4 separate regions of the Homo sapiens genome follow, and all the other regions are linked to region 2. Evidence: promoter capture Hi-C in 16 types of primary human blood cells and fetal thymus (Javierre and others, 2016). All regions are on one chromosome and are shown on one strand. Each heading gives the region's core, a stretch centred on a gene start or on the middle of the fragment in contact. The rest is flanking DNA. Distances are from core to core; before and after follow the strand shown.

Evidence for each region. Contacts are between HindIII fragments. The CHiCAGO score rates a contact against its expected background, and 5 or more counts as called.
Region 1: a fragment that was not itself captured here is called in contact with the fragment with the promoter of NKX2-8 in region 2 in 1 of 17 cell types (M1 macrophages); the score reaches 6.5 in M1 macrophages.
Region 3: a contact is called between a fragment that was not itself captured here and the fragment with the promoter of NKX2-8 in region 2, in 1 of 17 cell types (M1 macrophages). The highest score is 5.6, in M1 macrophages.
Region 4: the fragment with the promoter of LINC00609 here is called in contact with the fragment with the promoter of NKX2-8 in region 2 in 2 of 17 cell types (M0 macrophages and megakaryocytes); the score reaches 6.4 in M0 macrophages.

The regions. Positions count from the first base shown.
Region 1 is chr14:36,052,746-36,055,502 of GRCh38, forward strand. All of the region lies in intron 1 of LOC105370452 (a long non-coding RNA gene), which reads right to left. It also overlaps the pseudogene ILF2P2. Among named protein-coding and RNA genes, the nearest start is that of LINC00609, 16 kb to the right of the region's middle. The HindIII fragment of the contact is 1,381 bases long and covers 791-2,171 here.
Region 2 is chr14:36,581,187-36,584,238 of GRCh38, forward strand. NKX2-8 (NK2 homeobox 8) reads right to left here and starts at 1,428. Exons shown (of 2, transcript NM_014360.4): 1 at 1,047-1,428; 2 at 1-278. The coding sequence starts at 1,203. RefSeq lists enhancers at 1-8, 9-819. The HindIII fragment of the contact is 11,395 bases long and covers 1-3,052 here.
Region 3 is chr14:35,893,501-35,896,219 of GRCh38, forward strand. No RefSeq gene overlaps it. Among named protein-coding and RNA genes, the nearest start is that of BRMS1L, 69 kb to the left of the region's middle. The HindIII fragment of the contact is 3,843 bases long and covers 1-2,719 here.
Region 4 is chr14:36,069,073-36,071,841 of GRCh38, forward strand. It overlaps LINC00609 (long intergenic non-protein coding RNA 609), which reads left to right and starts at 1,355. Exons shown (of 3, transcript NR_073454.1): 1 at 1,355-1,613. The HindIII fragment of the contact is 3,305 bases long and covers 1-2,525 here.

The DNA.
Region 1 (2,757 bases), core at 231-2,730, 530 kb before region 2:
TTTGCCTCCTACTTGCCCTTTTGCTAAATCATGATTTCACCCTGTGCCAGATAGTTATGGGTGTATGAAAAGATGGCACTGGTGAAAGGCAGAGCGGTGAACACACTTGACTCAAGCCTGAGGAATCCAGGAAAAAGTTGCCAATGATGAAAATTGTGTGTGTGTGTGTGTGTGTGTGTGTGTGCGCGTCCACATGTGTGTGTAGTGAATACCTTAGAACAATTCCTTTATTCACATATTCAGAAGTGTAAAACATGCCTATTTGGAAGTACAGATTCACTTACATAATGTCTACCAGTGTGCTGCAGTTATTTAAAAGCTAGCTATCAACTTGGTAAGATATGGGAACTTTTCTATTTTGTACCTACTGTTTTAAAACTGCTGTATATATTTGTACACGTGACAAGCAGCTATTAAATGTTATAATGATTTTTTATTATACTGTCATTAAAAGGCATTTATCAAGTGCTTGTTTTAATGTAGCCCTATCTTAGGTGAGAGAAAAGAGGGCCTCCTTGATATGTAACACTCCACTGATAAAATTTGCAGTCTGTTCTTAAAACACTGTATATTCTGATGAGGAAAGTACAAAAGGTCTCAACATGTATTAATTTTATGCCTTTTTTTGTAGGCAAAAGAAGTAGGAAGAACAGTTTCTGTTCTCAGGCAGGTCTATTTGGGGATAAAAATAGAATATGAAATAGAATGCAATAAACAAATTACATAGCTATACTTTTTGAAGTCCAGGTCGGGCAGTGAGGTTAGGCTGGAAGACCTCTTAAGTTGTGAAAGCTTGGTTAAAGATAGGAGTTGACATGGCCTGAGTGTCAGCCAGTGGGGTTCTCTGTCACCAGATGGCTTTGTTAATTTGCAAAGTCCACAAAAAGTCATCAATAGTCATTGCTCTCTTTCTCTACCGAGTCCCTTAGTCTTCGGGCTCATTTCATCCAAATTAATGAAAGGAAAATCTATAAACAACAGCTTTATTGGGAGTTAAATCTCTAAGGAAAAAGCAGAAATTTGTAGATCTTCAAAGCAGTGTTTGCTCTCAGGTATCTCCTTTTATGTTTATTTATTTATGCCCTATTAGGAAGTATTTTCATTGTTTTTCTTAGAAAAAGTTTTCCAGACACTAACAGCTCACAACATTTCAACAGCAAAGTTATTAGTTGAGAGAAGGGTTTTCAGGAGTTGGGGATTCTAGAGTATGAGGAAGAAATGTTGGTATCCCGCTTCATTATAGATGGATGGCATAGGTCATAAATGGGAGACTCTGGCTGCTAAGCCAATATCAAAACCCACTGGACTGGCATTTCCTTCTACAGAGTTTATTTTCCTTCCTGTTGTCTTCCTGTCCCACGGAAATCCCTGCCACCATGTAAAGCCCACTGGCAGCTAGCTTAGGCTCCAGTCTTCCCCCTTGGGTAGGAAAGGGAGTGAAGGGAAGGTCACTCCTGAGTTTCCATGCTTTCCTCTTTCTCTCCTTGAGGTGGTTCTTCTGTCTTCTCCTTTTCTTCCTCTCCTCCCTGTTTCTCTGGCAGCTTCTCTTAAGCCTTTTCTGAAGGTGTTACTATCACTCCATCCCAGGTAGATATTTTGGAAGCAAGATGGCTGGCATCGTCCTCCTGGCCAAGGATCTTCCTAAAGCCACCAGAGGATTCAGACCAGAGTCAGAGCTGTGTGGCAGACCATGTCCTGCAGTTGCATGGTCATGACTGTGTGTACTCTCACAGGGGTCAGTGACACCCAGTGACCCTGGTGGGAACTGTCCTGCAGCCAGAATTTGCAAGCAATGCTCATATGCAACATTTAGGGCCAAAGGCTGTCTGGTGAGGTTGTTCATCACAGCAGAATGACCCAGTAGGTCAAGGATCCAGAATGTGAGTGGCTCAAAGCCAGGAAGACAAATCCTCAAGTCCTTGAGTAGTCTGATGAGAACTTTATGGACTGAGAGGCACTTCTCTCAATCCAGCAGGCAGGGCAGATGACTGCCAAGGCATTCTGCAATACCTTGCTATCCAAATAGACTTTGGGGTCCAGTTTTCCAAGATTGAGTGACACTATTGTAATGAGAATCTTCACTGGAGCATCAGAAGAACTGATTTCAAGCCAGTTTTGTTGGTCAGCACGGTCAAAACTTCAGAAGAATCTTGTGCTCTGAGGCTTTCCAAAGCTTTGTTCCCCAGGGCAGTAACAGCTTCCAGTGTTGGCAGAGTCTTTAGTATTATCACCAGGGCAGCTGCACTGTGGCCTGTAGCCATCTTTCTCTTTTAGTACGATCCCACCTGTCAGACTTCTTGAATTTGCACTTCAAATTAGAGCCACAATCAAATTATCAGTCACGTTGTTTATTTTTGTCACCAGAGAAAGGACAGAGTCCTGTTCAGCAGAGTTGGGAGCCAGGTACTGATCTCTCTTCAGCAAGGCCTCACTGAAGGACATTTCATCAGGTGCTGGCTTGACCCCTGGGAAGGCCATTTCACACAGATGGAAATCAAATGGGATATGTGGCACAAAGAGCCTGAACCCTCCTCTTGGGCCTCTTCTGGAACCAAAGCGCCCACCACGACCATGGCTTCTGTCATCTCTCATGGCACCTTAAATCCCCCACACTGGAGGCTGCACTAACCACCCCTTTCCTCTCAGATACCTCATTTTAAATCATGGTAGGCTTAAACTTTATAAGCCTTTAGCATTACACATTCCATTGTTTATCTTTCATTCTCTAGCATTTATGAAGGTAGAATTTTCCTCTCC
Region 2 (3,052 bases), core at 178-2,677:
TGGAGCGCGAGCGCGCTTCAGCTTGTAGCGATGATTCTGGAACCAGATCTTGACCTGCGTGGGCGTGAGGCGAAGCAGGCTCGCCAGCTGCTCGCGCTCGGGCGCAGACAGGTACCGCTGCTGCCGGAAGCGCCGCTCCAACTCCAGCGTCTGCGCCTTGGAGAATAGCACCCGCCGCTTCTTCCTTTTCTCGGCGTCCGAGCCCGGAGACGCGGGCCTAGCGGACGGCCGCTGCGACGAGTCTGGCGGGCTGGTCTCCAGGCTGCTCTCGTCCGAGGCTAGGGACAGCAAAGGAGACACGGGTGGGTGAGACGCCGGACCCTACGAGGGCCTGCTGCCCTTCTGGCGCGGGCGTGGAGGCACTGGCCAGAGGGCACGCCCACTAGCCCGAGACTTTCGGGATGAGGCCATTTCCTGAGTCCACATCTGGACATCCACCTCTCCGAATGCGGTGACCTCATTCATACCACAGCGGTCATCAGCGGGCCTGAGATCGTGCCCCGAAAAAACCCACCCCGGGGCCCTCTTAACATGTCCGCACCGGTAGTTGCGCTGGCCGACCAGTTTATCACAAGCTGGGTCACCAGCGCCGGCCTCCTCCAGGTCGACTGCACTGCAGTGTGCCGAGGTTTGCGGAGCCCTGAGTGGGAACGGGGTGGGGGTAAACTCGCCAACACTGGCCATCCCAGACGGAGGCCTGGAGATCGTGGCCGTGTTTTCAGGCATGGAGAGGGGGCGGGGGGTGGGGTGGGGGCGGCAGGTGGCGGCGCGTTTTAAATTTCAATTATTCCGACCTCTAGAAATCGTCAGACACAGAAACCCCAAATCTCGGAGCACCAGTGCCAGGCAGGGATCTGCTCTTAGGATGTGCCGACCGGGATGAATGCGTTAGGGGTTCGAGGACAGGGCTCCCGTTTCCAAGACTGAGGAAATCTAGACTCTGGGCTGGGATTTCGGCTTTCCGGCCCCTCGTGGGCTGGGCCCTTGATTCTGCTGCCCCACGCCTCCTACCTCCCACCCCGCACCGCAATCCACCACGCACTTACAAGGGTAGTGGCCGCGCTCCGAATCCAGCCAGGCGGCGCAGGGGTCGGGCTGGGGGGCGCGTGGTTCTGGCTCCCGCCTCGGCAGGTGTTGCGCGTCCTGCTCGGGTAAATCTAGAAGGCTGCGCACGGTGAAGCTCAGGCGTCCAGAGGTGGCCATGGCCGAGGAGGGGAAGGAGGCGGGGGCAGGGCAGGCTGGGAACGGAGGGGCGGCCGGGACGCCGCTCCTACGGATGGGCGTGGGAGGCGCTCGCCATGCGCTGGCAGCCGGGATATTAGCGCATTTACAGCGGAATCTCTGTTTATATAAACAGCTCTTCCCACCCAGGCCGCTTTGAAAGCCGAGGTCCGGGTCTCCAGGGTGTTAAGTACCTGAATGAGCACTGGACCAGAGCCGGGGCGAGCCCGGAAGGTGCCACCTCCGCCCCCGCCCCGCCCCGCACCCCGCCCCGCACCCCGCCCCTTGGCGCCCAGTTACCTCCCAGAGGCTGCAGGAAGCAGCATTTGGCATTAGCGATTCTGTCTGATTAGCCCAAAGTGGGGACAGATAATGGGGATTGTTACCAGTGAATAACATCTTGGGTGGCGAGCGGTGGCCACCACCCGCCTGACCCAGCCCCAGCTTCCTCCTCCTCCTCCTGGGCTGACTTGAGGCCAGGCCCCGCGGGAGCGCCGGGAAGGGTGGGGGTGGCAGGGGTGGGTTTATTAGCACCCAGGAATTTATTCCCTGTTTGCTTTATTCTTCGAGCTTGTTTGCTGGAGTGGTAGTTTCCCGCAATTATCCAGAAAGTGATTTACAAAGCGGCGTTAAACTCTGGCGCGCTCCCTTTCTCTTTTTGGTTGGGCCCCTCTAAGATTCAGGATGACAAGTTTCAGGAGGGCGTAAAGATTAGCCTGGCCCTGCCAGCATTGGCCCAGGGGTTTCAACGGCCGCTGGGAGCCTCGGATCACACCATACATCCCCCTAACAGCCTCAGAGGTGCTGAGGAAGGGCTGGGACAACATTCGGAGCCCCAGCTCCACGTCTCCACAGGCCGGCAAAACAGAAGAGGCTTGTAGCCAAGCTACTTAGGTCTACAGTGCCTGTCTCTTTGGCCCAGCTTCGCCCGGCCGCTGCCGATCTCGGAGCTCGGAGGCCGAGCTCCACAAATTTGGGTCCAGGCCCGCTTTAGAGCCCCTGGGCGGGGGCGCTTCTCAGGGCATCCTGTGAGGGCTTTGAGGCCTCCTTGGAGTCGCCAGATGAACTGGTGCCGCCTGTGCGCCTTGGCCCCATAGCCTCAACGGCACTCTCACTGCCTGGGCTTTGGTCTTTGCCCAGGAGCCTGCCCATGGCCTACGCTCCCCGCTCGCAGCATGGCAGACCCTGACGAGGCTGCCCGCCTTGGTCCGGGAATGGACCGATCGGGAGAATTAGGACAGGGCCTACCCGGCAGAAAATACCACCGGCCATGGGTTTCTCTGGGATCTTCTAGTTTCCACAGTTCCACCCTAGAAAATGATCAATGTAGGAGGCGCAGGGAACAGGCCGCCGTGGATACATTTTGTTGGGCCATGGCCTAGCTCTGGCCGCGCTTCAATCTACAGAGGAACGCCCTCTCAGAGGCCTCTCCTACTGAAGCTAGTAGTTTGGATATTTAGTTGCTAAATTGTAGCGAAGGGCTCTGTACTTGGGTGGCTGCACCAGAAGTCCTGGCTCCTCCCGGGCTGAACTCGAACCTGGCTCGGATGCGGCGGCGGCGGCCCTGTCAAGCCCCGCGCACCCTCCCCAGCAGCCTCCCTATCAAGCGTGCCCGAGGTGCCCGGAGCTGCACCGCGCGCTGGGTGGTCGGGCGGAGGCAACCCCAATACAGGCCAACTGCTAGGCCGCGGACAAAGGGGAAATGGAGCTCGACGCCCCGGACCTGTTGGAAGCATTTGTTCCAGTCAAGATTTTGCATTTGTTCAGTCCGGAATAATGCATGATTGACGTCTGCTCACAATGCGCTTTAACGCGCCGGGATAAATCGGAG
Region 3 (2,719 bases), core at 152-2,651, 690 kb before region 2:
TGTACATGGTGAAAGATAGGGGTACAGTTTCATTCTTTTTTTTTTTTTTTTTTTTTTTTTTTACTTCAGGTTATGTATCTGATAGCCAGTTTCATTCTTCTCAGTATGGTTATCCACTTGCCTCAGCACCATTTATTGAAAAGGGTGTCATTTCTCCAATGTATGTTCTTGGTGGCTTTGTTGAAGATCAGTTGGCTATAAATATGTGGATTTATTTCTGGGTTCTCTATTCTATTAGATTGGTCTATTTGTCTATTTTCATTCCAACATCATGCTGTTTTGGTTACTTGTAGTCTGTTTTGAAGTCAGGTAGTGTGATACCTCCAGCTTGGTTCTTTTTGCTTAGTAATGCTTTGGCTATTTGTGTTCTTTCTTGGTTCCATACAAATTTTGGAATTTTTTTTTCTATTTCTGTGAAAAATGATATTAGTATTTTTGATAAGGATTGTATCAAATCTGTAGATTACTTTGGGCAGTATGGTCATTTTAATGATATGAATTCTTCCAATCCATGGGCACAAAATGTCTTTCCATTTATTCGTATCCTCTTCGATTTCTTTCATAGTGTTTTGTAGTTTTCCTTGTAGAGATCTTTCACCTCCTTGGTTAAATTTATTTCTAGGTATTTTTTTTTGGTAATGGGAACTGCCTTCTGGATTTCTTTTTTGCCTATTTCATTATTGGAGTATAGAAGTGCTACCAATTTTTGTGTTTTTGTATCCTGTAATTTTACTGAATTTATCAGTTCTAGGAGTTTTTTGGTGGCACCTTTTGTTTTTTCTAGATATAAAATTATGTCGTCTGCAAAGAAGGATCATTTGGCTTTCTCTTTTCCAAATTAGATGCCTTTTATTTCTTGTTCTTGTCTGATTGCTCTGGCTAGGACTTCCAGTACTATGTTGAATAGAAGCGGTGAAAGTGGGCATTCTTGACTTGTTCCAATTAATAGAGGAAAGGTTTTCACCATTCAGTATGATGATAGCTGTAGGTTTGTTCTAATATTGCCTTTATTATTTTGAGGTATGATTCTTCTATGCCTAATTTGTTGAGCATTTTTAATCCTGAAGCAGTGTTGAATTTTGTCAAATCTTTTTTCTGCATCTATTGAGATTAACATATGGTTTTGCCCTTCATTTTGTTGATGTGGTGTATCATGTTTATTGATTTGCATGTGCTGAACCATCCTTGCATTCCTAGTATAAATTTAAATTGATCATGGTGTATTATCTTTTTGATGTGCTGTTGCACTTAGTTTGCTAGTATTTTGTTGAGGGTTTTTGCATCTGTGTTAATCAGGGATATTGGCCTGTACTTTTCTTTTTTTGTTGTGTCCTTGTCTGGTTTTGGCATCAGAGTAATACTGGCCTTACAGAATGAGTAAGAGATGATTCCCTCCTTTTCAAGTTTTTGGAATAGTTTGAGGAGGATTGTTATTAATTTTTCTTTTTGCATTTGGTAAAATTCAGCTGTTATTCCATCTGGTCCTGGACTTTTCTTTGTTGAGAGGCTTTTTCTTACTGATTCAATCTTGCTACCTGTTATTGGTCTGTTCAGGTTTTTTATTTCATCCTGATTCAATCTTGGTGGGTTTTGTTTCCAGGAATTTATTCATTTCCTCTACATATTCCAGTTGGTTATCATATAGTTAGTTGTTCATAATGATCTCTGATGATCTTTTGTATTTCTGTGGTATCAGTTGTAATGTATCCTTTTTCATTTCTGACTTTGTTTATTTGGGTCTTCTCTCTTCTTGGTTAGTCTAGTGGTTTATAAACTTTATCTTTTCAAAGAGCATATATATATATTTGCTCTTTGAAATATTTGCTCTATTTCACCACTTCTCTGATCTTTGTGTTTTTTTCTTCTGTGAATTTTGGGTTTGTTCTTGCTCTTCCAGTTTCTTGGAGTGTATCATTAGATTGTTTATTTAAAATCTTTATTTTTGTTGATGTAGGCATTTATTGCTATACACTTCTCTCTTAGCATTGCTTTTGCTGTGTCCCACAGGTTTTGCATGTTATGTTTCTATTTTCAATTGTTTCAAGAAATTTTTGATTTTCATCTTAATGGTCATTCAAGAGCATGTTGTTTAATTTCCATGTATTTGTATAGTTTCCAAGTTCCTTCTGGTATTGATTTATATAGTTTTATTCCATTGTGGTCTGAGAAGATATTTGATATAATTTTGATTTTTGAAAATTTGTTGAGACATGCTTTCTGGCCTAACGTATAGTCAATCCTGGTGAATGTACCATGTCCTGATGAGAAGAATGTTTATTCTGCAGTTGTTGGATAAAATGTTCTGTAAATGTCTATTAGGTCCATTTGGTCTAAAGTCCAGTTTAAGTCTAATGCTTCTCTGGGAGTGGGGAGTTGAAGTCTCCCACTATTATTGTATCAGAGTCTAGCTCTTTCTTTAGATCTAGTAATATTTGACTTATGAATCTGGGTGCTCCAGTGTTGGGTGCATATGTATTTAAAATTATTGTATCCTCTTGCTGGATTTATCCCTTTCTCATTACATAATGACTGTCTTTGTCTTTTTTTAAAAACTGCTTTTGACTTAAAGTCTGTTTTATCTGATATAAGTATAACTGCTCCTGCTCACTTTTGATTTCTGTTTGTGTGGAATATCTTTTTCCAACCTTTTACTTTCAGTCTGTATCTGTCTTTACAGGTAAAGTGTGTTTCTTGTAGGCAGCATATAGTTGGTTCACTT
Region 4 (2,769 bases), core at 105-2,604, 510 kb before region 2:
TCAGAACAATTTTCATTACTTTTTTTAAATACTGTTTTTGGCAAACACTTGATACTTGAAATAAAAAATGCATGAGTCACCTACTGGGATAGGCACAGTGTGTGGTTCATTGAATTTAGCTAAATTGTGAGTCATCCATCAATAGTCCTCTTGGTGAACATACTTGTAATAATTTCACACATTACAAACAAAAATAGGTATGATTTTCAAGATTCTTGAAGCTGTTTCCCTTGGGGATTCTTTGGATTGTGTTTAGAGTTTTTTGTGTTGCTAGGTGGTGAGAAACTTGTCAGCTTTGTTTTCAGATGGATCCAAGGCTTGTGTCTCTGTCACGTGATAAAAGAACTTTGGTTTGGGAGGCTCAGGGGCAGAGTATGAAGCTGAGCGTCATGAAGTGGGGGGAAACAGGAATTAGCGATTAATATTTGTCCTTGTCAGATCATTGACTTTTAAGATTGATTTTGGCATCTGAAAAATGTTTGGCTCCACTCTCAGGACAGAGTCAGAGCAGTAAGAATATGCACCTGTGTCCCCCACCCCCTTTTTTCTGATAGGAGAGAGCTGAGCAGGGTGGTTATGTGTCTGTGCACTACTGCCCTCTGTTGGATGGCACTAGAATTTCTCTGTATCCACACCCCAGCTGAATGAGCGCTCCTGGTTGGCTGGCAGGTGACCCAGGCAAATATGTCATTATTGGACTAAGACCAATTAAAAAAAAATAGTTGGCCTGTATAAACTAAGAGAGACCTCTCTCTGGTGGAGAAATAAGAGTGTAGACTTTCTGACCTGTAGGGTTCTTCTATTCTGGTGGCTGCCGGGCAAGAGGCTGGCATCTGCTGCTGAATGACAGGACAGACTTTGTGATTAAACTGCTAGATCTTTGGCTTTTCAGGAAGTGAAAATAATCACAAGATAAAGTATCCTTACTTGCATTTTTCCCCTTTCATAAGTGCAATAGGGCATAAAAGGGCTTTGGCTTTTGGCTACAATCAGAGGTGAAAGTTTTTATATGGATATAAGAAGAGAAGTTAAAGCTCTTTGCAAACTATGGCTAAAGTGCCATGTCAGTAAGACGTATACAGTGACCCAGGACACTGGCTGGGAAGTTTTCTTTGTTTTGGCAGATTCCTCTGCCCTCCTTCACCTTCTCCAAGGTAGCGAGAGTAAGTGTCCAGGCATGAGCCTTGGGGATACTGTCCTGCCACTACTGGCTGAGTAACTTGGGAAAGTTGTCTGACTCTTGGGCCACATTTTTTCTTTTGTGTAAAATGAGGCATTTGAAATAGATGCTATCTCAGAGTCGCTTCATTTCTGAGATGCAATAAATTATCTTTTCTTCCTAGATGATAATGTAAGCACAAAGAACAAAACTATTTAAAGACCACACACATACCCTCTCAAACAAATCACCTCCCTTTGGGAAAGCAACATGTTCACTGTGATAATTCAGCATCAGGACCTGAGGTGGTGGGAACAGCTTTGGCTGGTTTGCTGCTCTCCAAGGAGCTCCTGTGCCGGCCGCATTGGACAAGCATCTCTGCCCTGCGGCGCAGAGTCTCCAGGACCAGCAGATGGCGGACTTGCACAGTCCACACATTTTCCAGGTTCTCAAGGTAAATGGTACTGATTAACATCCAGAAATAACACCCACTGATGTTTGAACAAATTGCAGCGTTTTCCAGGCCACTAAAACCATGGCACTTTGTGAGCTGGAACATTTGCTAATATTTAAAATGGTTAGAAAGATTGTTAATCTATAATACTTTCGAGTGTTAACAGCCTCTTTCACCCACGCATCAGAAACCCTTAATAAATTGGCCTTCTTTTTTTTCAGGTGGGGAAATTAGGGCAGAGGGTCAATTGGCTAAGATCACAGCAGAACTAGTCCAAATAATTCAGACTATACACCTTGGTGATCTTTTAGAATTGTCGTTCCTCTTGCCCTTCCTTTCTTTAATGCCCACTTCTCTTGGTTGTGGAGGGGAATGTGTGTGTTGACTGGGGATATGGAAGAGGAATTGACGTCTTCTGCACTTTGGGGCATTGCCACCTGCCATGGTCATCAAAGCTCCTGATCGCCACAACCTGTATTCAGAATACCTGTGATAATAAGAACTGGCATTTATTGATTACTTACTTTGAGCCAGGCATTGTTCTAAGCATTTCTCACACACTAATCATTTAATCCTTCCAGCAGCCCATAAAGGAGGCAGAGAGAGTAAGTAACTTACCTAGAATAACAGATCTTTGTATTTTTCTAGGCTCTAAAAGCAGCAATGACTTCAATCTATTTTTTAGTGGTAATCACTCTTTCACCCCAGATATTTTCCAGCTAACAGATCATTGACTGATTTTTAATATTTAAATTGAGAAATTTATTGGAGCTTTGGTGATAATCATGTAAGTAAGCCCTGGTTATAGTAGCTTGTAATGCTATTATTAGTGTTCAAGATTTCCTTTCACAACCTTGTGCTTAGAAGGAATGATTCACTAGAAATGGAAATAAGATGTAAATGAAATGGGGAAGCTTGGCAATTTAATCACTCAAGTAATACATATTTTCAAAGTGCTCACTTAATCCACTAGTCACAAGGCGGCATTAGAGATGTGTTGGGGGGTTTCACTCCAACAACATTTATTTATTTCAAAAACATACATAGTGGTTACTGCATACCAGGCACAAATATTAGTTCACTTAATTCTCCTCACAACTATGATGAGCCCCTTTTACAGATGAGGAAACCAAGGTTCAGAGAGGTAAGAAACATA